4 separate regions of the Homo sapiens genome follow, and regions 1, 2 and 4 are each linked to region 3. The links are contacts of gene promoters, found by promoter capture Hi-C in blood cells and fetal thymus (Javierre and others, 2016). All regions are on one chromosome and are shown on one strand. Each heading gives the region's core, a stretch centred on a gene start or on the middle of the fragment in contact. The rest is flanking DNA. Distances are from core to core; before and after follow the strand shown. Region 1 overlaps LOC105377999 (a long non-coding RNA gene). Region 2 overlaps LAMA2 (laminin subunit alpha 2). Region 3 holds the start of ARHGAP18 (Rho GTPase activating protein 18). Region 4 overlaps LOC105377999 (a long non-coding RNA gene).

Region 1 (6,778 bases), core at 2,141-4,640, 190 kb after region 3:
AGGTATAGCTTGGGAGGTGTGCTACGATCTCATTTCTCAAATAAAATGTGTTACTTAAAAATCTCTATGGTCTAAAATTTTTCAATAAGCATATATATATTTGGGACATATGTGCTCCTGATTCTCCAACTCAGAACAGGACTTATACCATTGCCTGCTCAGCACCCCAACCCCAGTTCTAGACTCAGACTGGGACACTGGCTCCCCTTGTCTGGTTCTTGGGCTGTTGGGTTTGGACCGGAAGTACACCACTGGCTTGCAGATCGCAGATCCTGGGATTTCTCAGCCTCCATTATCACGTGAGCCAACTTCTTATAATAAATTGCTTCCTATATGTCTCTTTCTCTTATAAGGTATATCCTATTGGTCCCATTTCTCAAGAATATGCTATTTTTACGATTGTGAGTATTTTCAAGGAAATTCGTATAGTTACAGGCGTCACAAAGAATCCTGTGAAATGAAAAATGGAGGTTAACGCAAAAGGATAGCAGAGGGGAGTCTGCCTAAACTACTGTTTTGCGAAACGGCCATGAAAGGCTAAGTTTGCAAAACTCAGGATGTTAACGGCTTTTGCAGGAACAAACATCATTTGGTCAAATAAGTCTAAGAAATACGAAGTTCGGTGAAGTCAAGCAGGCTTATTTATTTAATGCAGGCCATCTCTGAGACTTTAATGTGCTCATGCTCTCTGTGAGTTTGCAAAATGGAGAGAGTAGGTGGTGTCCCTACAACAACACCATCTTTTCCTATGGAGCAATGCCCGACATCTTTTTTTTTTTTTTTTTTTTTTTTTTTACGAGGGGGGAAGCAGCCAACATTTGAGAAATGCTGACCCAAACCAAGTGGGCCAGCTATTTCTCTCCTTAAATATCTCTGGGGTTTTTGTTATTGTTGTTGTTAAATCTCTGTTCTCTTTTATTCTATTTCTACCAAGTGTTTGTATCAGACAGTTACCTTTCAGTTCAAAACTTTGTCCATTTAATAACCGTATATTCAAAATCTCAAGACCTGGTGAACTTGAAATATAAATAACCTCAGACTGTTTACAACGATCCCAAACCCCAAATCATCCAACTAAAATAAGTATCTCCTGTACTTCAGAGAAATACCTCCTTTGCTTGAAAGGGAAAATTTCGTTTTTGAAAAAAATACTTTTAAATTTGATTCCTGAATGTAAAACCACCCTCATTATTGTTTGGACCTCACATTTAGAGATTTAGTTGATCTTCATCATCACTGAGTTTTCAGTTCAAGACACATTATCCTCTAAGCCCCTTTTTGAACTCCTAACCTCAGGTGATCCATCCACCTCGGCCTCCCAAAGTGTTGGGATTACAGGTGTGAGCCACCGCGCCCTGCCTCTAAGCTCCTTTCTGTTAGCTTAGTCGTTAATTCATTCCTTCACTTGTTCCCTTTTATATCCACTTCATGATTCCATGTCTCTTTCCTCCTACCATTCTAATATATTCAAATACATTAAATACGGAAGTTTGGGATTTTATGTTTTTGTAAAACGTGGAATGTTGTTTTTATATTATTTGTGGAAATTATTTCAGTCCTGCTGCCTAGGCTCTTATGAGATTTTGACTAGATAACTTTTAATAAAATGTTAACAATTAAAACATCACTACTAACTGATTAACTCTTTTAAGTTACATAGGTGAACATACGCATGAGATAAGTCAATTTAGTAGCTATGTGTATATATTTTGCCAAGCAATACTGAATGTAAAACCGAAAACCAACACATCCAAAGAACATCCTAGTATTATTTGCTAAAAATTGAAATGTTCATTTTATCATTCTCTACATTCTTCTTGCAACAGGAAATGACTTCTGAATACACTGCCTCATCTATCATTGTCAAGGATTAAATATGAACCAAATTTGCAAGGTACTTTTTTTAAAGTTTGCTAGAGCAGAATAATGTCATTGTCAACACTTTTAAACACTTTATGACTTTGGAATCTTTCCTTAAAAAAAAAAAAAAGCACATTGCCAAACTAATTAGAATTGGTCATGAATATTAATGTTTGAGTTGAAAACAACTGCCACTAGGTGGCAAACAATCTACACATAGACTTAAACAAAAGAGAAAATTATAAATGCACTATATCATATATGCATATTAAATGAGACAGTGCAAAATAGATGGTTAATGCAGTATCTTCAGCATATTGTTAATAATATTACTACTTGGAAACAAGCCTAACAGTACAGTGCCAAATGTACTTTTTGAGGAGTTAAGCTTTCTTTTGTCTTAAGTAACATTTAAAAGAAAAGAGAAAACAGAATGAGAATAGCAGATACTGACCTTAAATTCTAACATTTGTCATTATTTGGAACTGGAACATGGACATTTATTAAGTATCTCATCTGTGCTCTCCAAGTTAGGCATCTCTCTCTATGGTTGAAAATACACTGATGATGAAACTCTATAGGCCTGAGAGACCTTGAACTTCTTGTCCTTGGGCTTTCTGTCTGGCTTCATGGATTCTATATAGTCATCAATTTTTATACCATGTTGGATATAGGAGAGAGAAAGCACTGCTGGGATTTTTCTTTCTCCATCTGATGCAACCTTCTTGGGAATAGGAGAGATGATGCTATGTGAATAGACTTCAGTGCTAGACTGCTAGGTTTGAATATTAGCATAATTTCTCACAAGTTGTGTGCTGTGACTTTAATGTGTCCCCCAAAGTTCATGTGTTGGAAGCAACAGCCTGAAGAGGTGGGACCTTTAAGAAGTGATTAGGGCTGGGTGTGGTGGTCCATGCCTGTAATCCCAGTACTTTGGGAGGCCAAGGCAGGTGGATCACTTGAGGTTAGGAGCTTGAGACCAGCCTCGGCAACGGTGAAACCTCGTCTCTACTACAAATAAAAAAATAAAAAAATTAGCCGGGTGTGGTGGCGTACATTTGTAATCCCAGCTACTCAGAAGGCTAAGGCAGGAGAATTGCTTCAACTTGGGAAGCGGAGGTTGCAGTGAGCCGATATTGTGCCACTGCACTCCAACCTGGGTGACAGAGTAAGACCCCATCTCAAATAAATAAATGCATAAATAAATAAATAGTGATTATGTCACAAGGGCCCTGCAGTTATGAGTGGATTAACACCACTATTACAGGAGTAGGTTCCTGATAAAATAAGTTCAGTCCCTTCTCCCCCACTCTCCAACTTTCTCTCATGCACATGCCCTCTTTCCCTTCTGCGTTCCATCATAGGATGATGCAGCAAGACAATTCTCACCAGATGTGGGCCCCTTGACCGTGAACTTCCTAGTTCCAAGACTTTCAGAAATAAATCTCTGTGCTGTAGAGATTACCCAATCTCAAGTATTCTGTTATAGCAGAACAAAAGGGACAAAAAAAGACAGCGTAACTGTGACAGACTATTATTGCTCCTGAATAATCATTTCTCCTTCTTCTAAGGGGATGATACTTCTTTGTTCTATTGACCTTGTTCTTGGCCATGAGTGTGCTCTGGCCAGTGGTATGTGAGTAAACATGGTGTATACTATATCTAGCAAGCAGCTTCAAGATCTGCAGTGGGTTTCCACCATCTCTCTTGCTTTTACCCTCTTCCAAGGAAATGATGTGTCCCCTCAGAAGAGGGGGCTACTCCTTCAGCCTGGGGCCTGGAATGAGAAGACCCACAGAGAAGAGCTAAGGAAAGTGAGGTGCAGCCACCAAAATAATATATGTGAGAAATAAGTATTTATTGTTAGAAGCTATTGGAATTTTGACGTTGTTTCTTATTACAGCATTACCTAGTGAAAACTGACTATGGCCCTTAGCTTATTAACCTGTCAAATGAAGCTAATAATATTATTCATCTCACAGGACTTGGATTGAATGAGTTAATACACAGGAAGAATGTAGAATAGTACATAACATTATGGAGGCTAGATATTATTATTAAAATAGTCTAAATGCATATGCCATAAAAGATTACATATATTGAATGACTAATAGAGACCAGGAATGTGTTACTCATGATTTTATTCAATTATACAGTATCTTTCTAAAGTATTGACATTCCTGTTTCATAGAACAGAAAACAGAGACTCAGAAAGTCTCTTAGTTCAGTGAGACTTTCAGTTCCTAGTTCAGTGTGGCTAACTTCCAGTTTTTTTGTGTGTATGTTTTTTACTCTGAATCAGTCATGAACTAATGGTTTTAGAAAATATGAATAACATTGAGTTATTAAAAAATAAATAAAATGAACAAAGTTTAAAAGACATATAAGATATAATTCCAATTTTTTATTATTAGATCCTGTAGACATAAAATTATATTTTAATTAATGCCATTGGAACAAATGTTAAAAATGAAAGAATTACAAAAATTATCCATATTATTCAGTGAAAATATGTATGTAGACAACTAATACAGAAAAATCACTGTTTTGCCAATAACTTTTTGTCATTTCACAATTGTAACTAAACAAAAATATGAATGAAAAGCAACTTCCCAAGTTAAACACTATTTACATACATTAAACTACCCACATACAGTTTTTAATGTGACAAGTAAGCTTGCTTCTTACTTGTTAACATATCTAATCTACTTTAATTTCTTTTTTTTTCCCTTTCTTTCTTTTTTTTTTTTTTTTTTTGAGACTGGGTCTCACTCTGTCTCCCAGACTGGAGTGCAATGATGCGATCATGGCTCACAGAAGCTTTGACCTCCTGGGCTCAGTGATCCTCCCACCTCAGACCCCAAGTAGTTGGGACTACAGACATGTACCACCACACCCCACTAATATTTTATTTTTTGTAGAGATGAGGGTCTTGGGGGTCTCACTATGTTGCCCAGGTTGGTCTCAAACTCCTGGGCTGAAGCTATTCTCTGGCCTCTTATGGCTGGGACCACAGGCGTGTGCCACCATGTCTGGCTTTTTTTTTTTTTTTTTCGGAGAGACAGAGATCTCACTTTGTTGCCTCGGCTGGTCTTGAACTCCTGGCCTCAGATGATGCGCCATCCTCGACTTCACAAAGTGCTGGAATTGCAGGCGTGAGCCACGATGCCAGACCTACTTTAATTTTAACAACTGATAGTAGAGAAACAAGTCTCACAAAGCTATGTTAATGGGAATGAAACAAAAGATTTTAAGGCAGTTTCAGCAATCTCAGGATATTCATTTTAAATTTTTATCCAAAATGAAACAAATGATGCTGTATATTCAGAATTTCTATTTTTATCAGAAGCCAAATTCAATAATTTACTCTGTAAAGTTACAGTTAAGTTCAAATTATTTCTTAATGAAGGAAATAAATTCTAGATTGAGCACTTTTGGGTTATCATTGGCAAACTAACTTTGAGACATTGTGTTGTAAAGGTTCTGCTGCAGACAATTAGTAGGCATCTTTGAGTCCATGTAGCGTGAGTACATGTAGAACTCATCATGTGATTTCAAGAACACCTAAACTGTTCTATATCTGCTGAGTAAGATGAGTTAACTGCTCCTCGTTGAATGTGTCAACAAGCAAGTGGTAGAAACAGATTTGTTTGCTGGTCTCCTCCGTTGTGTAAGGTTTTTCCTCTGTTGGAGGTTGTTACCCTGTAAGCAGATCACCTGAGATATGAATTATATTTGTTCTACTACCTATACTGTTTAGCAGGACCAGTGGCTAACCATACCCTGAAGCCAGCCTTAGAGAGGATAATTGTCTTAATAAAAACATACAGTTGACCCCTGAACAACTTGGGGGCAAGGAGCACTAATGCCCTGCAGTTGAAAACCCTCAGATAACATTTGACTCCCCCCAAAATTTAACTACGAATAGGCTATTCTTGACCAGAAGCCTTGGCAAAAACATAGTCTATTAACAGATATTTTGCATATCATATGTGTTATATGCAGTATTCTTAAAGCAAAGCGAGCTAGAGAAAAGGTTATTAGTTATTAAGAAAATCATAAGGAAGAGGAAATACATTTACTATTCATTAATTGGAAGTGGATCATCATAAAAGTCTTCATCTTTGTTATCTTCATGTTGAATAGGCTGAGAAGGAGAAGGAAAAGGAGGGGTTGGTCTTGCTCTCTCAGGACTGGCAGAGGCAGAAGAGGTGGAGGAGGTGAAAGGGGAGGCAGGAGAGGCAGGCGCACTTTATGTAACTTTTATTGAAAAAAATTCGCATATAAGTGGACCTGCATAGTAGTTTAAACCTGTGTTGTTCAAGGGTCACGTGCACACACACACACACACACACACACACACACACACAGTTATATATGCATACACATACATATGTTTATATATCACATATACATATATGTTGTGTATACTTATTGGTTAAAGTGTGTATTGTACCAAATATTGCTGTCTGCATTTCAAACTCAAATAATGACTTTTAGACCTCACTTCTTTGAATTGTAAGTACAGTTGCCATGCTGTATTGTAGGCACTTTGATGACAGAAATAAAATTTGAAATGTTTCTGGAAATCTGTATTCATCTATAATTGATTGACTGGTCAATTGGCTGGCTCGTTAGTTGCCTTGGTTACAGCATTCAAATATTTATTGGCTACCTGGTCTAAATAAGATCAAATTACAATTTAATTTCCAGTATGAGAAAAGAAAAGATGGTTTTTCCATAAAAAATTAGACAACCATGCAATTCTAGGGATCAGCCCGTAAGCACAGGCAGAGGAATTTGGATAGAACCAAAAGATATAAACCTTAGTTCCTTACTCACAGTAAGAAATAGGGCATTGTTTTCAGTGCCTCAGTTCTGGCCAGACATGGTGGGTGGCTCATGCCTATAATCCCAG
Region 2 (7,276 bases), core at 448-2,947, 220 kb before region 3:
AACCTCATTTGCCTCAGCCCTTAGGAGTTCTACCCTTAACATTTTTATTCGTGCAGTTATCTCCACCTTTGGAAAAACCAAATGCATTTTCTGAAGCTATAAATAAGAAAAATCCCTCCCTCTGCCCCTCTTAAATATTACCTCCTCAAATAAGGTATGCACACAGCAAAACTCACAAATCAGCTCCACTGGAGCCAGCAGGCTTTGGCGGTTTCTATCTCATTCAGGTTCCAAAGCAGTTATGGCAGCTGCTTAGCTGTCACAGATACAGAGTGTGGCAGCAGCTGCAGGACCTATTGAGCCTATTAAGTGCATATCTTGTCCCTGTCCCCCTTCCCAAGGTTTGCAGGGTCCCTGCAGAGTGGCTTTCTGAGGGAACAGAATCAAGGGAGGGGAGGAAAATGACTGCTGCCCTGAGCCTGGCCACCTTTTTACAAATCTACCAGAGTGCTTGCCCCAGCCCTGGGCCAGGGAATTGGCTTTACTCATGCACAAACTGATGACTTTCTTTAGAATGCTGCAATACTTTATACTTACTTTATTAGGAAAGTCATCTGTATTTTTCATCAAAATATTGTATGACAACTCAGAGAGATAATTAGTTTAGAAGGACAATTAGAGAAAAAAGAAACAGAAGCCCAGAGACTTCAGGGGTTCAGACCTCCAAGCCAGCAATCCATTTATCAGACTGAAGACATAGAAAAGAACTGGAAATCCAATTTGATGAGGCCTCAAAACACAGAGGATACTTTTAAATGCAACGAGTATGAATATGTAGCAGTAGTTCAGCCAAGCCAATACTATCCTGCAGTGAAAGACCTACATTTACTAATTATCCTCTTGGGGAAAACATTTAGATAAGCAATAAAGATTTCTTACCTTCTAAGTAAACAACAAAGCTTTCCTCAGTTTTTATTATTATTATTATTAGGTAGAGGATTAGGCTGTAGGATGAATTGATACAAAGCGTTCATGCAGAATGGCTACTGAGACGTTTAGAAACCATGATCGAGACAAATGAGGGATCATTTATTTGGACAAACTGAGAACTTTTACTAATCTAACAGCCAGATATTGTAGTCATGGTCTCTGAGGAGAAATGCAAACTGAATGCTCTCATTTGAATCTTAGAATGCTTTAGAATCCTGGTTTCACATGTCTTCTAGATTAGATGTTAGGCCCTTTGACAAACTTTAATCCTTTTCATTGCGGAAAGGACTTTTTAAAAGATTTAAACTTTAGCCGGGCGTGGTGGCTCACACCTGTAATCCCAGCACTTTGGGAGGCCAAGGCAGGTGGATCATGAGGTCAGGAGTTCGAGACCAGCCTGGCCAATATGGTGAAACCCCGTCTCTACTAAAAATGCAAAAACATTAGCCAGACATGGTGGTAGGCGCCTGTAATCACAGCTACTCTGGAGGCTGAGGCAGGAGAAATGCTTAAACCAGGGGGACAGAGGTTTCAGTGAGCCGAGATCGCACCACTGCACTCCAGCCTGGGCAACAGAGCAAGACTCCAACTCGGAAAAAACAAAACAAAACAAAAACATTTAAACTTTAAGGAATTTCAATAAGTAACTGCAGATTTGAGAAATTAGTTTACCGAAATCACTCAAAATGTGTTATTTTGTTGAGAAAGAATTCTGGAATTCCCAAATGCATTACACTATTGTACCACTATGCCACTATGTCCTTTTAACAGGTGCTTCTTCAAGAAGGGCATTTTATTATGCCAACTTCACAGCTGTTGACCATCAATCCAACCTTTATTTGATTAAGCTCAGTATATAGTACATCACTGGAAACCAGTCATTTAGTTAATTGGCCATATAAACGAACAGTTTTGCCATTCATTGTTAATTACAGGATAATATATGACATATTAGTGTGTAGTCACTGAACTCTGTGCCAAAACAGTAATACATTTGCTACCATAATGGCTCATTCGGCACTCTAAGGTTAAAATGCAATCTACTCTATAAGCAAGTGCCACATTAAACTGATTGACCAGAGATCGCAAGTGACCATGAGAACTTCACCCAGAAAAAATTTTTAATGCTTTATATGCCTATTCTATGGCATGATTTGTGTCACATACTAGACAAAGATGATTTGTTTTCATTGTTCTGAATGTATGTGAGATCTGTAATAACATCCTTTCATCACAGATGAGAAAATATTAACTAACCTGCCCAAAATCATGTACTACAAATAACAGGACCAGGTATTAAATGAGATGATATATTTGACTTAAATACCTCCATCTATGCACAGCCAATAGATTATTCTTACATTTTTGTGTGACCATAAAGGTTTATATTACTAAATGTTGATTATGATGTATGATTATTAATTTGGAGATATTTGCATTATCCCAACACTTTTCAGATTTTCAGACTATGCATGTCAGTCATCATTTCTTTTCCTAAAATCCTGGACAAAATGATAGCTTTAATACCGCCTCACAAAATAATTGGATTTTCACCAAACTGGGGGCCAAGCTTCTCAAGAAGCTCCTTCTCCCTTGTCCTCTGCCTCTCTTTACTCCTCCTCCCTCATTCTCTCTCCCTTCCACCCCTTCATCTGGAAAAATCTCCCTTTAGTCACTTTGGTATCTAATTTCTTGGCACTCCAGTGACCTCTGCCTCCTATATCTGCTTTGTCCTCTGATCCTTCTCCTGGCATCCGCCTTGGTGGCCAGCAGTTCTTACTGGACAAAAACATCAAACCCTAAGAGCCTGAAGTAGTTACTTAAGCAAATAGGACAAGCAACTGAACTGAGTTTTTCTTCTGGGAAAGCTTTCTTCACACAGGTACAGAAATAGGCTAAAGGTCAGGAAGTAGGGTGAGATATTTTAGGAGTCATTTGGGGTTTCCAGAATGAGATAAAGATTTTAACACTGAACCCTAAATATTTTCTTTCTTAACATCCAAAGTATGTTCAAACAGAAAAAAGATTAGATTCTATTTATTATGTAAATTACAAACATTAGGACACATTTCTCTTAATATCTTCTTCCACGTATGCAATCCAACTGATATGGTTTTAAAAAAAATCTTAAACCCACATTCCAAACAAATAAGAAATAGGGTATAAGTAATCAAGTAATTATGAAACTCTAAGAATCAGCCACTGAAACTGTAAAAAAAAAAAATAAAGCTGACCTATTACAATACTAAAGTAATACAAAGTTTAATGTACCTTTTTGCACATAGCAGGCCTCAGTAAAAAGCTGTTAAATAAATACTTTTTAAAAATGGAAAACACACCAGAATCATAATGGACATATTGGCAATGTCCTTCTCAATAAAAACTAAAGAAATGATCTAGATTTGATGTTCCTAAAAGGTAAAATAGGAGCAGGATTTAGCTGTAGTTTTCTAGCAATGCCCTTTTTAAGTAATACAGCCTCAGGGCAATCCCTTAATTAATATTTTCCGCTGTTTGAAGTAGGTATTTTTATCTCCATCTTATAAATGAATGAAATGGACCTGAGCATGATTAAATAACTTGCCCAAGGTCACACAGCTAGTAAGCTTCCACACTAGTACTTAATTCCAGTATGTTCCTCCTGAAAGCCCACACTCATTCTCCATCACCACCCTGTGAATTGGTTTAAAAAAAATAAGGGTCACTATGATGGTCCTTGTGGCAGAACCACACTACAGAGAGAGGCTACACCAGAAAGAGGAAGGCCTCTAGCTTTTTAAAATTCTAATCAAGAACAGAGATTTACTCTCCTTGGACAATCTTTAACAGAGGCTTATATCCTTCATTAAAACCTTAGAAGCCCTGTGATATCATGTTGCTAAGAAGAGGCTGCTTTCAGCTAAAGGGGAAAAAGAGTGTAGGGGAGGGGCTTCTCAGTGAGTCACACATACCCGGAAGTGAGTGGTTTTCTGAAATTCTCGTCTCAGGAAACCACCGACACTCTTAGCAAGGAAGCTGAACCTCCTGGGTTTTGCCAACACATTTTTCCATAGTTTGGTAAAGAAAGAAACCTCAAAAGTATGTCATTTCCCCCTATTTTCTCTTTGAAACTAAATTTTACCGGTCCCTTCTTCACCCCCTTAACAGTGACGTTTTTGAGCCACAGCGAAATCCATTTTTTGTCCCTTTCTCTTACTTTTGAATTATCTTACTTGTAAAGTGCCAATTCAGAGCATCTTTACCCTGGCTTATTGTTTTTTCCAGTTCTACATGTGGTTTTACTTCTTTATAAAGTCAAGTAAGAGGGTACTTTAGGACTGAGGTTTCCATCCAAGTACTCCGGTTTTCTCTCCAGATATGAAGTAAGTTTTCAGTAATCCATTCATGATCCCCAGGCTAGTGACTAATGCTTATGACTAATAGCACCATGATGACTGTTAAGACCGAAACTCAAAACTTGCTTCCGGAACAAAAGAGAAAATGCCTTTGGTCATTTTCATCAGAACTCTTTGTCTCCTTCTGATTCTTGGCCCAGGGATCCAAGGATTGTTGTAAATAAGTAGCATGAGGTTCTCAATTAGCAGTGTGTGAGTTCTCTCTCATAAGCAAATTAGGAAAATTAATGAAACAGCCACTAAGGAAAATCATTGCAAGGAACAATTAGCAGGGTGTCCTTGCCTGCCTCTTCTATTCAAAAGCCATCAGCTACATTCTTTATAAAAGGTGCTTTAAGTGTTTGCTGTTGATTCCTGCAATCTAAGCTCTCAGGAGCATGGTTTGTTCCCTAGCAAGAAGATAATAGCCAGCACAACCCAAGGAAGACCCCATGCTTTGCTAAACCTGCCAACCCTTATACGGTTAGACATTACTGCACACTGCAGAAGCCTCAGTTCTCACAGGCTCATGTGTTGGGCTGCACAGCGCTGTTGTCAGCTCTACAAGAGGCTAATGTTGCAGTGCGCCATGACCTGGTTTCAGTAAACTTTCAGGAAGAGTGAACGAGGGAGTCATGGAACGAGATCCTGAGAACAGCGTTTGCTTAGTGTAGAATTCCTAAGCATCCAATTTTGGCTCCCTTAAAAGCTATGGTTGAGAGGGGTGAAGGGTGGCAGGAAAGAATTTGATTTCCAACTGTATTGAATCAGATGTGACTTATACTTGTTTATTTTTAATATTTTATCAGCATCTTTACAGTTCAAGTGGATGAAAACAGAAGATACATGCAAAACCTGACAGTTGAACAGCCTATCGAAGTTAAAAAGCTTTTCGTTGGGGGTGCTCCACCTGAATTTCAACCTTCCCCACTCAGAAATATTCCTCCTTTTGAAGGCTGCATATGGAATCTTGTTATTAACTCTGTGTAAGTGGATCTCCTCATTACTACTACTAATTTTTTATTTTTATTTCTTGCTATTAGGGGTCCCAATGCATCTACATTGTCTACAGCTATGCAGGGGAGGAGGGAAACAATGAGGATCTTCAACTTAGACTGAGAAAAGCACACTAATGGACTTAAAAAGGCATGCGGGGATTGGGCTTAATTGTAAGGAAGCAAAAAAACGAAAATAAAAAAATCTTATTTATTACATTCTATTAGCCCCATGGACTTTGCAAGGCCTGTGTCCTTCAAAAATGCTGACATTGGTCGCTGTGCCCATCAGAAACTCCGTGAAGATGAAGATGGAGCAGCTCCAGCTGAAATAGTTATCCAGCCTGAGCCAGTTCCCACCCCAGCCTTTCCTACGCCCACCCCAGTTCTGACACATGTAAGTGTTTATATTATCCCCATTGCTTTCTAATTTTTACCCAGTATTCTGAGTCATTTCAGAAGGAAGATTATTCAGGATATCTAGTACACTCTGATATTAGAATTGAAAGAAATATAACCTATCTAAACCTATTCTTACATCTTCATTGAATGACTTACCTATATTTCCATCTTCAATTTTGTTTACAAAACAGTACATTTTCAGTTGAAATGTTGGAAAACACAGAAATATCCAGAATCATGAATAAAAGACACTTATAATACCATGACAGAGGCAACCATGTTGGTTTCCAGGCCCTTTTATCTGCATAGTAGATGTCCTACCTTGTATACAATTTGGTGTCCTGTTTTTAGAAACTAGTAATACACCACTAAAACTGTTTCTAGGCCAGGCGCGGTGGCTCACGCCTGTAATCCTAGCACTTTGGGAGGCCAAGGCAGGCAGATTGCCTGAGCTCAGGAGTTCGAGACCAGCCTGGGCAACCACGGTGAAACCCCGTCTCTTCTAAAATACAAAAAAATAGCCTGGCATGGCGGTGTGCACCTGTAGTCCCAGCTACTCAGTAGGCTGAGGCAGGAGAATCGCTTGAACCCAGGAGGCGGAGGTTGCAGTGAGCCGAGATCACGCCACTGTACTCCAGCCTGGGCAACAGAGCGAGACTCCATCTCCAAAAAATAAAAATAAATAAATAAATAAAAACTGTATCTAAACATCATATAAATGTGTATGTCTAATATGATTTTATGTTAAGTATATATACACACAGAGACACACAACTATTTTATAGTATTGGAGGTCATATAGCCTTGATTAGAGCATGGGCTCAAGTCAGACTGCTGGTATTCAAATCCCAGCACTGTAACCGACCATCTGTGTGAATTTGGGAAAGCTACCTGTCCAATCTATTTCTCAGTTTCCCATCCAAGTACTAACCGGGCCCAACCCTGCTTAGCTTTTGAGATCAGAAAAGATCGGATGCTTTCAGGGTGATTTGGCCATAGACTATTTCTGTTTCCTCATCTGTCAAATGAGGATATTAACAGCACAGACATCAAAGACTTTGTATCAGAGTTTTAAAAGATAATGTTTGTTCAATGACTCACATATACTGAACGTTTAATAAATGGCATAAGTACTATGTAGTAATGATAATAATGAGTACTTTCACCAGCCCAGGGCTAAACAATTTTCATTCAATATTATATGTAATTCTCATAACGGCTCTGTAAAATATAGTCTTTCTACTTTTAGTCGAGTTAATAAGAATTAGCTATCTTAAGCAACCAACCCACTCACACCACTAGTAAAAGGCAGAGTAAGAATTTTATTCTAGCGAGTCAGACTCCAAAGTCTGACTCCTTATCTCTGGAACACTCTGCCTTTCCAATTTATTCTACTTTTAATAGACCATGGTAGGCTATTGAGAGTGTTTCCAGTTTTTCACTATTAGAAACTATACTCTGATGAGCTCCTCTATGCATCAAGCTTTTTCATTATTTCCAGTTATTCTTAAAATAGATAAGTAGTTAGGAAATTATAAGGCCAAAAGATGAATATGTCTAAGGTTTTCAATACAC
Region 3 (6,453 bases), core at 71-2,570:
GGAAAATGAAATGGTAACACAGCTAAGGCACAAGCACCAAATCTTTTTTATCTTTGGAAATGAATTCATTCAATGAAATACATACTGTGGATGCTATGTGAGAAACAGTTCCCGTCAGCTGGGAGTCTAACACTGAGTATTACAGCCATTCCTTTGATTTTTCTCCCTCCCTCATATTTGGAGATTTTAAAACAAATGAAAGGCAGCATTATTTCAGCTTAAGGCACAGGCATAAGTCACATAAGAACAAAGAAGGTTTTATTATCACATTAAGCATTGAGGAGGAAATGTGCTTACCGATAACTAATTTAGTGTTCTAGGCTATTAGGTTAGTATTTGCTTCTTGCAATCTTCTAGGCCAATATTTACTATTTATATCTTGATGGAGGTAAAAATGTTCAGCTAGTGAGAAGGTCATTAAGGAGAGAAAGAAAAAAAAAAGCCCTTGGAAAATGGAACAAAGTACACAGATAGGGAGAAAGGTACCCTTTGCGCCTCAGTGGTCTATAGAACATTTGCCCTCTCTGCCTATAAAGTGATTTAACATTAACCACATTTCACTCCAGCAGCAGAGTGCTATCTCCTGACAAAAACTCCTTTTTGAAAGCCTGGGGGAAAAAAAATCCACATACACAAAAGAATGTGAAACATATTGCCACAGGCCAGTGTCTTGGGCTTTTTGCCTAAGAGGTTTGCTTTCAGCAAAGAGAGGGGGGAAAAAAAACACTCTAACAACAACAGCTTGTACAGTACAGTGAACAGCCTCCCTGCTTTTTGGCAGACTTTCCCAGCGAACAGTTCCAGTGGCAGTGCCTTGAGCCCATTCAAGAATTCCATTTCATAGGAAAGGAAGTGTTTCAGATAGACCTATTTGATCTTTCAGCATGTGCAAATGCACCTGCTAAATAGCTAGTCTGACAGCCCATATAGCCCTCTCCCCAGTTCCTTCTTCTCTGTCTTCACCAGTAATCATATGGGTTATTTCAGACTTGGACTAGGTGAGATGAAAAGTACATAAAAATCACGCCAAACGTTGCTACTGCTGCTGCACGAGCTCAGGCTCGACGTGCAGATGGAATTCCCTTCTCCCCACGCCAACTTCCCTGTCACTTTCTTCCTGGAGCAGGTAAGAGGGTTTTGTTTTGTTTTCAGCTTCCGAAGGCTTACCTCGAGGTGGCTTCCTCCCCTGCCTTTGCATGGCTGTTCCCGACGGTCTGGTCCTTGCCGCTGGGGTGGTAGGCTGTTAGTACCACTCCCTGGGAACTGGAGAGCCAGCTCATGGTGAGAGAAGGGACATACTTTCTGCGATCCTGACACAGAGAAGGGGAAAGAAGTTCCTGTCTCGCCTGGCAACTCGCTCATTAGCATTGGCCAGCTCCTCCCCGCAGGCTGGCGATTCACACGGGGAGGGGCGGGGTCTGTCCAGGGAAGGGCTTCCTGCCTCTCCAATTAGAAGCTGCAACTCACAGCATGGTTTCAACTCTGGACAATTGCACTCTGGGCGGCTTTGGTTAAAGGAGGCGAAGGGTGGAAGCGACGGGTTGCACCCACCCCCAAGTTAGTCTGATCAGATTAAACTGCCAGAACGTATATTCAACTCATCACTGTAACTACAAGCCGTCTTACTTAGGAAACCATGAGTTGCTGCCAAGGCTTTTTTTTTTCCCTCCCCAATTCCTCTATCTTATAATTTCTGCTACTTAATGTAACATGAGTAAAGGCATTTCTTAACCCCTTCATGTTCAGCGTTAAAATTAGCCATAGTAAAAAACAACGAACCCGCGGCAAAACTCTGCAATCCAGACGACGAGAAAGGCTTGATCCTTGTGTCCGGTTAAAAATGCCCTCATAAAAATTGTGTGTCCTGGAATGTCGTCGTCTTTCACATAAAGCCAATCTCAAATATACGTCTTGTTTTAGCAAAATATTTTTCAGCACCAAAAAGGGATAGACCTACCAATGCTCTGTTAAGTGTTATTGCTGAGAACAAGAGAAGTCCCTGCCATTTGTTGAGCACCTACTATATGCCAAGCTCTCATGGACGGGGGTTTCACATGTATTATCTCATTCCATTCAATTCTCTCTCTCTCACACACACACACACACCGTACAAGATAGGTATCACTATCATCTGTGTTATACATAACACAAGGAAAGTAAGGCTGAGGGACGAGTTAAGTAACTTCACTAAGATAACACAGTTGCTAGTGCCAGAAGCTGGATTTGAACAGAATTCTAGGCTACATTCCTTTTATTTTTCACCAGTATGCTCTTCTTTGTTTTGCAGATTAAGAAACAAGATCAAAATTATCATAAACACAAAAGACAGCTCTGTTCTTTCTCCCCATCTCCCCTCCAAAAAAAAAAATCACTTTTTTGGTTTGTTTTTGAATCAGGGTCTCACTCTGTCACCCAGGCTGGAGTACAGTGGTGATTGTAACTCACTGCAGCCTCAACCTCCCAGGCTCAAGAAATCCTCCAGCCTCAGCCTCCCCAATAGCTAAGACCACAGGCATGCACTACCACGCCCAGCTAATTTTTTTATGCTTTGTGGAGAGGGAGGGTCTCACTGTGTTGCCCAGGCTGGTCTTGAACTCCTGGGCTCAAGCAATCCTCTTGGCTCAAGCTCCCAAAGTATTGAGATTACAGGCATGAGCCACCACGCCTGGCTTCTACTCTGACATACCCAGTAGTCTGAAGGTTTTTTTAGATTTTTATGATTCATTCAACTCTCTAGAATTCCTCTTGAACAAGTTTCCAATTCCATCATTACATAAACTTATTGCTTATACCTTATCATTATTTAAAACAGTCATGAAAAATAATTTCTTCCTCCTTACATACTCTAGAAGTATCTGAAATTTATTTTTGAACCCTCTTTCTTATAATTTACAAAAGTCTTCCTTAAAAGGAATTTATATCTTCCTCCCTCCCCCCTGCACAACTGCTCAACCTTCCCATTTCCACTTCCATAGGACTTTACTTGCTGTCTCCTTTTTATCCCCATGACCTCAACCACCTCTGGATCCTATAATGCAGTCTTAGCTCCAATATTACAACAGCCCTTTTAGCTCATCTCCCTGTCACCTCCTTTAAATTGCTTTGACATTATGATCACACCCTGGCACTCATGATCCCTCTCCTCGCTTAAAAACCTTCATTGGCTCTCTATTGCTAACAGAGCCAGTTCCAGGCTTTTGAGCAGATCACTGGGCATTCCTGCTACCTTATACATACAAGTCTTTCCATCTGCTAGACACAATCTTTTCAGGTCCTACTATGATTCTTTTCTCTTCATCTGACAGCTAACTTAAATTTTGTACCTACTGAGCCTTCAGTAAACACTGAATGGAGGAAAACCTGAATGAATTGAAAGTATCCTTTAAAACTCTACTAAATTTTTTTTTTTTTTTGAGACAGAGTTTCGCTCTTGTTGCCCAGGCTGGAGTGCAATGGCATGATCTCGGCTCACCACAATCTCCACCTCCCAGGTTCAAGCGATTCTCCTGCCTCAGTCTCCCGAGTAGCTGGGATTACAGGCATGTGTCACGACGCTGGCTAATTTTGTATTTTTAGTAGAGACTGGGTTTCTCCATGTTGGTCAGGCTGGTCTTGAACTCCCGAACTCAGGTGATCCGCCCACCTCGGCCTCCCAAAGTGCTGGGATTACAGGCATGAGCCACCGCGCCCGGCCAACTCTACTAAATCTTTATATTAAAATTGGTAATATTAGATAAGCGGTTCCCATGCACATACCAGTGCTAACCTATGAGGAAATGTTCATCAGTTCAGGCAAAACAAAAACTATAAAGAGAGGGAGGCAAAGATTAAAGTAAATTAGAATATATGTGTTTTGTCTTTTCAGTGTCCTTACATGGAAAAAATGTTAATAACCAGCTCATCCACCCCTCCTTTTTTATGTAGCTACTCTGAAATGCAAACATATGGGAATCACTATCTTATACAATTATTGATGGTAATCACTACATTATCTTTTGGAAATTCTTTTCTGTTTCCCTCCCACCTTTTTCTCCCCCCTTACTTCCCTCTACCTCCCTTTTTATTATCTTCCTTTTTTTTCTAGTTTTCCTTCTTCCTTTGCTATGTCTTTAGCCTGTCAATGTCATCCATGCCCATTGGCAGCCACGGGCACTGCATCTCTCATGTGACAGTTTGCGATGAAGATTTTGTCCAGTTATAGCCAAAACAATTATTTAGTTATATTTTTGCCTAATTATGGTCTTTTCACTTGTTTAATAACAAATCACAATGTACAGGTTGAAATGTAATTGTTTTACAATGTCAAAATAATATTTGGGTTTGCAATATCCACCGTTTTTAATTTCTGTGAGGCAGAAAACCAAATGTGATACAAATTGATTTACATAGCTTAGTACATAAAATTTGAATCCTTCTAATTTAGCTCTCAAATACCTGAAAATCCTCTGAGCTTTTTCTCCTTTCCTCCCACCAAGCCCTGTTGCTACTGGTCGAAGGGTATTACCTATCACAGGCAGAGAGCTGGTAGGACTGTGGCCTGGTGTTCATAGCCTCAGATACATGCTCAAGTAGATTAAAAACAGTTTTCAGAATTTTCCCATGTCATCAAAGAAGCAAACCTAACTACCAGTGTGGTCTCTTAAAAAGCTGTTCTTTGGGAGGCCAAGGTAGGTGGATCACCTGAGGTCAGGAGCTCAGGACCAGCCTGGCCAACATGGTGAAACCCCGTCTCTACTAAAAAATACAAAAATTAGCCGGGTGGCGTGGTGGTGGGCACCTGTAATCCCAGCTACTCAGGAGGCTGAGACAGGAGAATTGCTTGAACCCAGGAGGCGGAGGTTGCAGTGAGCCGAGATCATACCACTGCACTCCAGCCTGGGAGACAGAGCGAGACTCCGTCTCAAAAAAAAAAAAAAAAAAGAAAAAGAAAAAAAGAAAAACAACGACAAAAACAAAAACAAAAAAAAAAACCTGTTCTTATTTCACACTGTAAACTGTACTAAGGTTTAGCTCATGTCCATCCCTTATACCATTATCGCTCTTTTGCAGAGACAAATATTATGAAAAAAAACAAAACACTTTTTTACTCCTTTCCGCAACCATTTTAAACACACACTGAGAACCTCATGACCTTGAAGATGTTAATATTCCCAGCTATTGAGTGCGTGCCAAACACTTTCCTGTTATGAAACATCTTAAAAAGTAATTAACAACATCAAGACAGTTTAAACATTCATTTCATTCATTCTGTTTAAATGAGGTGTACTAGATGACACAGGAAAGGAAAAGGAAGCGGTAATTTATGTACCCAAATAGGTTGTTAAAAATAGGGTGAAGATGGTACTGCAGTCTCTGACAATTTGACACCCATGTTCAAAAACAATGAAAAAATTTTTCTTCAGTTCAGTGCTAGTGGTAGCAAAGAGTTTATTAGCTGGTTTTTATATGTTGATTTAGGAGCCTATTTAGTATTAGAAGGAATTGTATTAGAAGAGTGCCATGCAATGGAATCAGCATATAATTTATCAAATTTTTCCTGAATTGGTCTAGTTCTCTTAAAAAAAAAAAAAGAATTAAAGGAGAATATGTACACACAATCTCTATATGATGATGAAAATCTACATAGGGACAAAAGCCATGTGAAAATGACCTTCCAAATGGTAAAATTAAACCCAATTTTCAATATTATAACAAGAACTTGAATAAATTAATCAACTGTGAAGTTAAAGTTTTACATAGGTGATAAAGGCTAGACATATGAAGCAGGATTGACTAATGAAGAGGAAGAGTTCTTAACATCCCTTACCTCATGTTTTATCAGGACCTCGTAGGAATAGTTCTTGTCAGCTTACAAAGTTAGCTACCTCTGTGCTAGGGTACTATGACTGAAAATTATTCCATATACAGAATCTCAAACTATTTCCTTGGGAATTACACTCATTGTTATTAATTCTGTCTCTGGAACAACAAGAAATAACCCTTTTCCCTTTCTCTGGACAGCTCTAAAAATGTCTACGTTATTCTCAAAGTTATTTTCTTAACTGCTCCTCCTGCGAGAAAATACTAGCCATGCTTGGGATAATTTGTAACTGCTATTGCCAGAGGCTAATTTAGGCTTTTCGGCAATCATTTAGAAAAGATGTTTCTTACAAATAGTTTATTACCAATAAATAACAATAGCTAATATTGAGTCCTTACTCTTCGCTAGACATGGTATACATGGTCTATCATTTAATCATCACAATCACCACCAGGGATAGAAATTGGAATTACGCTCACTTTAGAGATGAGGAATATGAGGTCATCCAGTTAGTAGGTGGCAGAACCAGGACATGTAAACCTGGGTTTATGTGACCTTGGAGCCTGAGCTCTTAAGCATTATAAAGGTTACAGCAGTCCTAGAATTGACATCATTTTATTTCTGAAAAGAATCATATGAATAACAAAGTTAAA
Region 4 (6,918 bases), core at 1,859-4,358, 220 kb after region 3:
ACATCCATCCCTGAGAATGTCATGGGAGCTAAGGAGACATAGCATTCATTTTGGTTTACGGCCATCAGTGTTGCCCAAGTGCCATATAGGGAGTCTCTCAGGCCATGCTATCAGTGCCCAGGGTGCCAACTAGGAATGCCACCTATTAAGAAGTCTTTTCAGAAAAGGAACCAGAAAAACTGCCTTTGTATTAAGATAATGAGTAGACACGCAACCTTAGGACCAGCAGAGTCTACAGCAGCTTCTCACTTCAGATCAACTGAATCATAATGAGCATATAGCAACCTGCTCTTTTAGATGGGTTTCAAATCACCAACTGCTAGACTGTCAATACCACAAAGTTGATGTCTTATACTCCTATATGGATGAATATCTGGGGTCTTCAAAAGCCAACACATCCAGGAGAACTGTGCCCCTAGAGAGCTTAGAGGTAATACAGTCCCACATAGAAATGAAGGGCCACCTTAGGAGATGGCAGCAAACCATTGTCTACATCCAGGAACTCCTTCTAGAACCCAGGAGTCTCTTAACTTGGCACCTGAAGAAAATATGGGTTAGAAGCTTTTGCTTGAGCAATAGACCTGCCTCAGCAGGCAAGTCTTAAGCCCAATTCTTTCATCTGTCGTGGCCATGGATCTCTAGTGCAGTGTTCAGAACTACACAGAAACTTCAAGGATGTGTTAGAAGATAAATTTTAATCTGTGCATTTTTTATTTAAAAGCAAAGAGAGCCAAAAAGCCTATAAATAATTTAAAATTGAATGATGAAAAACATTTAATTATCCCAAAGAAGAAAGAAAAGAAGGAATAAAAAATAATTATAAAATGGTGAACATTTCCCAAACATTAATCACATTTTTTTTTTGTAGCTGGGATTACAGGATTGTGCCACCATGCCTGCTAATTTGTAAATTTTTGTAGAGGTGAAGTCTCACTATAATGCCCAGTCTTGTCCTGAACTCCCGGCATCAAAAGATCATCCTGCCTGGGCCTTCCAAAGTGCTAGTATTACAAGTGTGAGCCACCATATCTGGACTACTTTAAATTTAAATGGACTACACATACCTAATAAAACATGAAAACTGTAAGAATGAATTAAAAAAATGCAAGACTCAACTATATATGGCCTATAAGAGATGTACTTTATTTATTCATTTATTTTTATTGTTATTACTTTTTAGCTTCCTCGGGCTGAAAGAGATGCACTTTAAATATAAAGACAAATCGATTCGAAGTACTTTCTTAAGGGAATAATAGAAAGCCAAAATCAATGGAATAGAAAACAGACAAACAATAAAGAAAATTAATACAGATAAAATTTGGTTCTTTAAAAAGACAAATAAAATTGATAAATCTGCATGTAGCCAAACTGTTGAAGGAAAAAAGAAAGATAAATTATTAATATTGGGAGTAAAAGAGATAATATCATTACTCCAGATCCTACATACCTTAAGGATGATAACGGAATATTATAAATAACATTACACCAATAAATTCAGTAGTTCAGATGGAATAGATGGATTTTTTGACAAAAATAGTTTACCCAAACTGATACCATATGAAATAAAATCTTTTAAAAATACTATGAAATAATAGTAACAAACAACATGAATATAATAACAAATATAGGGTTATAATAATTATAATATCTGAGTTGTCTTACATCTATTAAAATTTTTAATTACTTATCAGAAAGTTTCCCACAAAGGCCCAGACAGTTTTACTGGTGAATCCTATCAAACATTTAAGGAAGGAATAACAACACTCTTACATAAACTATTTAAGAAAATAGAGGAAAAGAATACTTCCCAACTTGTTTTATATGGCTACCAAAGCAGTGATACCAAAATCTGACAATTATGTTCAAAAGAGAAAAAAAGAGGCCAGGCCTGGTGGCTCATGCCTGCAATCCTAGCCCTTTGGGAAGCCAAGGCAGGCAGATCACTTGAGCAAAGACCAGCCTGGGCAACATGGTGAAACCCCATCTCTACAAAAAATACAAAAATAAGTCAGGTGTGATGGCATAAGTCTGTAGTAGCTAGTTGCAAGGCTGACGCGGGAGGATCACTTGAGCCCCTGAGGTTGAGGCCGCAGTGAGTTATAATCACGTCACGGCACTCCAGTTTAAGCGAAAGAGCGAGACTTTGTCTCAAAAAAGAAAGAAGAAAGAAGAGAAAGAGAGAGAAAGAAAGAGAGAAAGAAAGAAAGAAAGAGGGAGGGAGGGAGGGAAGGAAGGAAGGAGAGAAAAAGAAAGAAAGAGAAAGAGAGAGAGAGAGAGAAAAAGAAAGAGGAGGGAGGGGAGGAGAGGGAAGGAAAGGGAAGAAGGAACAGGGAGAGGAAAAGGAAGGAAAGGGGAGGGAGGGGGACATTAAAGAGAAACAAAAAAATTACAGACCAATATTCTTCATGTATGTAGACACAAAATTATTTTTAAAATATAAGTAAATCAAATCTTGAAATACATGTAAAGGATGATACACTATAACCAAGAGGGGTTTATCCTAGGGCTTCAATAAATGAGAGAAAAAAATAAATGTAAAATAGGTGAGCAAATCAAATGTATACGGTAAGATGGCAAAAGTAAATACAAATATAAATAATTAAATGAAGGTAATTGACCGAATATTAAAAAAAAATTCGGACTTCCAGAATGGACTAAGAAACAATAACAACATACCTCATAAATGCAATGTATATTAAGAAAACAGCAACCATATGTAGTTTCCTATATATAACAAAACAGAAAAGTTGAAAGAATGGGAAAAAAATCACACAAATTAAATAAAAAGAAAATTGGTGTAACTCTACTACGGGTTGATTATCACTTATCTAAAATGCTTGGGACCAGAAGTGTTTCAAATTTCAGATTTTTTTGAATTGGGGAATATTTATATGTACATAAAGAGATATCTTGGGGATGGGACCTGAAGCTAAACACAGAATTTATTTGTTTCATATACACTTTATACACATTGTATTTTGTACAATGTTATTAATAACTGTGTGCATGAAACAAGCTTTTCACTGCATTTTGACTGTGACCCATCACATGAGGTCAGGTGTGGAATTTCCTACTTGCGGTGTCATGTCAGTGCTAAAAAACTTTAAGATTTTGGAGCATTTTAGATTAGGGGTACTCAGCCTGTACTAGCAATGATAACAGACTTTAAGCCAAAAGGCAGTAGTAGAATTAATAACAAGAAAGCTTCAATTCACTGGGAATGTTTAACAATTCTAAATTCATATGTACCTATAATATTTACATGGCCTCAAAGTATATAAAACAAAAATTAACAAGAGCTACAAGGAGAAATAAAAAATAATGAATATTTGCCTCATTTTCTCACTTGTTTTTAATTCACTGAATTATGTTGTATTTTGTGCTCATTTGTTAGTTGGTTTGAAATTTTTTTAGGACAAACAGGGATACAGCTTAATTAATTGATTTTAAAACTCTAATAGTGAGACCTCACCTAAATTATTAAAATTTATCATCATGGTCCCTAATCCCCTTCTGAGAAGGAACTGGAAGTGTGTTGTCTTGGTAAGAAAGCCCCTCCTTTGGGCCTAGGACCTCTCAACAAATGCTACTTTTTAATGAGACTTTCCTCTTTTGGTCAATAGATTACCCGTAAATTAATTGAAGCCTTAGGCCTTGGATATAAAGCAAGTAATGTGACTTCATTAAAATACTAAAGTTACAGTGACAATACTATCTTTGAAATTAAATGTAGGAGTTGCATCTCTTGTTTTTATTTTCATTTTAAATCTTATTTATTCTTTTATTTGCTTCTTTTGAAGTTTATTTAATGGTAATGCACACAAGAGATACAAGGTTGAAAACACATGAATGGAAATATTTTTTAAAAATTCATCTCTTTGGCCTCCGCTACCCAAGCCCCAGTTCTAAATTGTACAGGTAACCCATGTTACAGAAAGTTAGACTACCCAACAAATGTTCTTCACCTCGCTTTTTTTTTTACTATTTACCCTAGTCACTATTTCATATCAGTTTATCGAGTGGGTACCACATTTTTTTTAATGTCCTGCATCCTGCATAACATTCCTGCATGGATGAAGCACATTTATCTTACCTGCCCCTTTGCTATCACAGACAGCATTGCAATGAACAGCATTGTATACATACCTTTGTGTTCTTGCTGGAGTGTATTTAAAGAGAAAATTTTATTAAGTGAGTTGGGTAAAACGGTACAAATGTGCGTTTAATTTTGATAAACATTGCCAAATCATCCCATAGTTAAAAGTTCTACAAATGTACTCTCCCAACAATTACTGAACGTGCTTGTGCCCCTGAACTCTTGCCAGAACGGTTTATTATTACAATGTTTATCTTTAGCATTCTGATTGGTGAAAAATAGTTTCTTGTTGTCATTTCAAGAAGGACTATTCTTATGAGGGGGTTGAGTATCTTTTAAAAATACTATAAAATAATATTAACAAAAATATGAGTATAACTAATATAGTGTTATGATTATAAACACAATAAATCTATCATAAATATGAAATAAGTAATATAAGATATACTATTTGTCAAAAAAAATTGCATTACCAATCAGATGAAAGCCACTGTATACCCTTCCCTAGTTGAATTTCTCTATCTCGTTATTTCAGAAGTATTTGCTACCTTGAATTTAACATTTATCATTTTCAGGTATTTATGTAGATCTTGCAACACATTTATTTACTCCCAAATTACATATATTTGTGTATATGTGTGTGCATATAAGTAGTTGGCATGTTTTTAAATTTCATATAGTGTCATATTGCAAGTATTCATCCTGCAGTGTGCTTTTTGTCCTCGACATTATTTTGTGATAATTCACTCATGATATTTATGCAGCTCAGATTCATTCACTTTCTACTGCTCAGTAATCCATTGAATGAATATATAACCATTTATTTATTCTACTATTGATGGTCCATTTAGGCTGTTTCCAATTTTTGCTCTTTGTGACAATGCTACTATGAACATCATTGTAAACATCTCTTCATCGACATAGGAGCAGACCTGCTGGGACCTGCTGGGTCACAGGGTTTGGATTCTTCAGCTTTACTACATATTGCCAAGTTGCTTTCAAACGTAACTGTTCCAATGTATGCTTTCATCAACAGTATAGAAGAGTCCTCTTGCTTCACAGTTTTGCCAAACTTGGCTTTAGAAAATATTAATTTTTTGCCAATAGGATGCATTTGAAACAAAATTTCTTACAGATTTAGTTTTCATATGCCTGATTATGAATAAGACTACACATCTTCACAGATGTGTAAAAGCCATTTGTGTTTTTCCTTATGTAAACTACCTGCTGTGGTGTTAGCTCATTTTTTTCTATTAGGTTATTGTTTTTTGTCTTATTTTTAATTGCTTTGTAGAAAGATTTTTATTTTAGGAGATTAGGTACCTGCTACCTTAACTATCATTTTTTACCATCAATAGTTTTTCTAGATTTTCTTTTTTCTTGTGTCCTTATTTATAGTACCTTTAAAACCAACTATTTAAATTTATATATTTTATATATATTTACATAAATATAACTTTATATAAATGTGATCACATATAGGCATTTTGTATGTGTGCAATGTTTTTCCACTTTTTATGTGGTTTTCTCCTTAGTCTCTCCTACTTTTCCCCTCATGTGGCTTCCCTGTTCCCCCTACAAAGATAACTCATATTATAAACTTTACATTAATTATTCCATACTTTTACTGCATTCAAATGCCTCTATACGACTTGTACATTTATGTACATACTCTGCAGGATATTTTAATTTTGTCATTATTTGGTTTATAAACATGCAATTATGCTAATACAAATTTTTTTTGCTTTTTATATTTTCATTTAACAATACTTTGGGAAAATACCTCTAAGTAAAACTGTGTGATTCTAACTCATTTTTCTAATGGCTCCTAAATTTTGTTGTATCAACAAAAATTTTGCTAAGCAAAAATCACAGCATAGAAAGTTACAGGGACCTAAAGAAGGAAAATTGTACTTAGTCAAGATTTTATAAATATATTTTGGATATGTATATGCATGAACTTTAAAGTGACATTAAGAGGTACATTTTACTCCATAAAATTTGTTGTTGTGGAAATTAAATATATGAATGTATATGTACTTCTTTTGCTTATATACTTATGTATCTATATTATATATAATTTTGTATATGTATTACATAAATATATTTTTTATATATTAGAGATACCTATCATATATTATATATTTATGATATTTATTTATATTATTTATATATCTTATATGAGGTAAATATATATTTATATATTACATAAATGTATAGTATATATAAGCATATACTATATATGTGTAATATGTGTATACTATATATTGTGTATATATCTATACACACACATAGAGAAAGTGAGAGAGACAGAGAGAACAGAGCCAAGTGATAGGAAGTACACTCTATTCCTGGCTCAGTAACAGACTGTGTGGAAGTGGGGGAATAATTTCACTCTGTGGACTTCAGTTATCTCTCCTGTAAAATGGAGGATAGAGTCAGGACATAGACGGCTCTTCCGACGAGGTCAGAGTTCCTCAAGGCAATTTAGGAGGAATCCAAGGTTTGCCAAGGCTTTGCATTCACCAGCTGACATGGCGCCACCACGTGGTAATAGTGTAAACAATTTAAAATGTATTGGATCCGTCAGCTTTTAAACATGATTCATCAATGTTTAATTTGAGGAATTAAGATTATTTAAACTTTGGTGCATAAACTGAGACTTTATTAATATGTTTATTTTTCACTATTTGAAATTTGCATAAAATGTGACTACACTGTATAGACAGGGAAGTTTTGAAATCTAACATTGTTTCTGTAACACAGAGTAACAACCAACTACATTTAAAAATGGGGAAAATATGATAATAGAAGAATTATTC

What was found. Contacts are between HindIII fragments. The CHiCAGO score rates a contact against its expected background, and 5 or more counts as called.
Region 1: a contact is called between a fragment that was not itself captured here and the fragment with the promoter of ARHGAP18 in region 3, in 3 of 17 cell types (M0 macrophages, monocytes and M1 macrophages). The highest score is 6.0, in M0 macrophages.
Region 2: a contact is called between a fragment that was not itself captured here and the fragment with the promoter of ARHGAP18 in region 3, in 1 of 17 cell types (monocytes). The highest score is 5.1, in monocytes.
Region 4: a contact is called between a fragment that was not itself captured here and the fragment with the promoter of ARHGAP18 in region 3, in 1 of 17 cell types (erythroblasts). The highest score is 6.0, in erythroblasts.

Annotation. Positions count from the first base shown.
Region 1 is chr6:129,891,847-129,898,624 of GRCh38, forward strand. All of the region lies in intron 4 of LOC105377999 (a long non-coding RNA gene), which reads left to right. Among named protein-coding and RNA genes, the nearest start is that of TMEM244, 34 kb to the left of the region's middle. The HindIII fragment of the contact is 2,288 bases long and covers 2,247-4,534 here.
Region 2 is chr6:129,486,788-129,494,063 of GRCh38, forward strand. It overlaps LAMA2 (laminin subunit alpha 2), which reads left to right. Exons shown (of 65, transcript NM_000426.4): 57 at 5,114-5,290; 58 at 5,528-5,696. It overlaps LOC102723409 (a long non-coding RNA gene), which reads right to left. Exons shown (of 8, transcript XR_001743860.2): 8 at 5,695-7,276. Among named protein-coding and RNA genes, the nearest start is that of ARHGAP18, 220 kb to the right of the region's middle. RefSeq lists an enhancer at 3,785-4,984. The HindIII fragment of the contact is 1,601 bases long and covers 898-2,498 here.
Region 3 is chr6:129,708,857-129,715,309 of GRCh38, forward strand. ARHGAP18 (Rho GTPase activating protein 18) reads right to left here and starts at 1,321. Exons shown (of 15, transcript NM_033515.3): 1 at 1,168-1,321. The coding sequence starts at 1,280. RefSeq lists a silencer at 1,595-1,674. The HindIII fragment of the contact is 10,321 bases long and covers 1-6,453 here.
Region 4 is chr6:129,930,111-129,937,028 of GRCh38, forward strand. All of the region lies in intron 5 of LOC105377999 (a long non-coding RNA gene), which reads left to right. Among named protein-coding and RNA genes, the nearest start is that of TMEM244, 72 kb to the left of the region's middle. The HindIII fragment of the contact is 188 bases long and covers 3,015-3,202 here.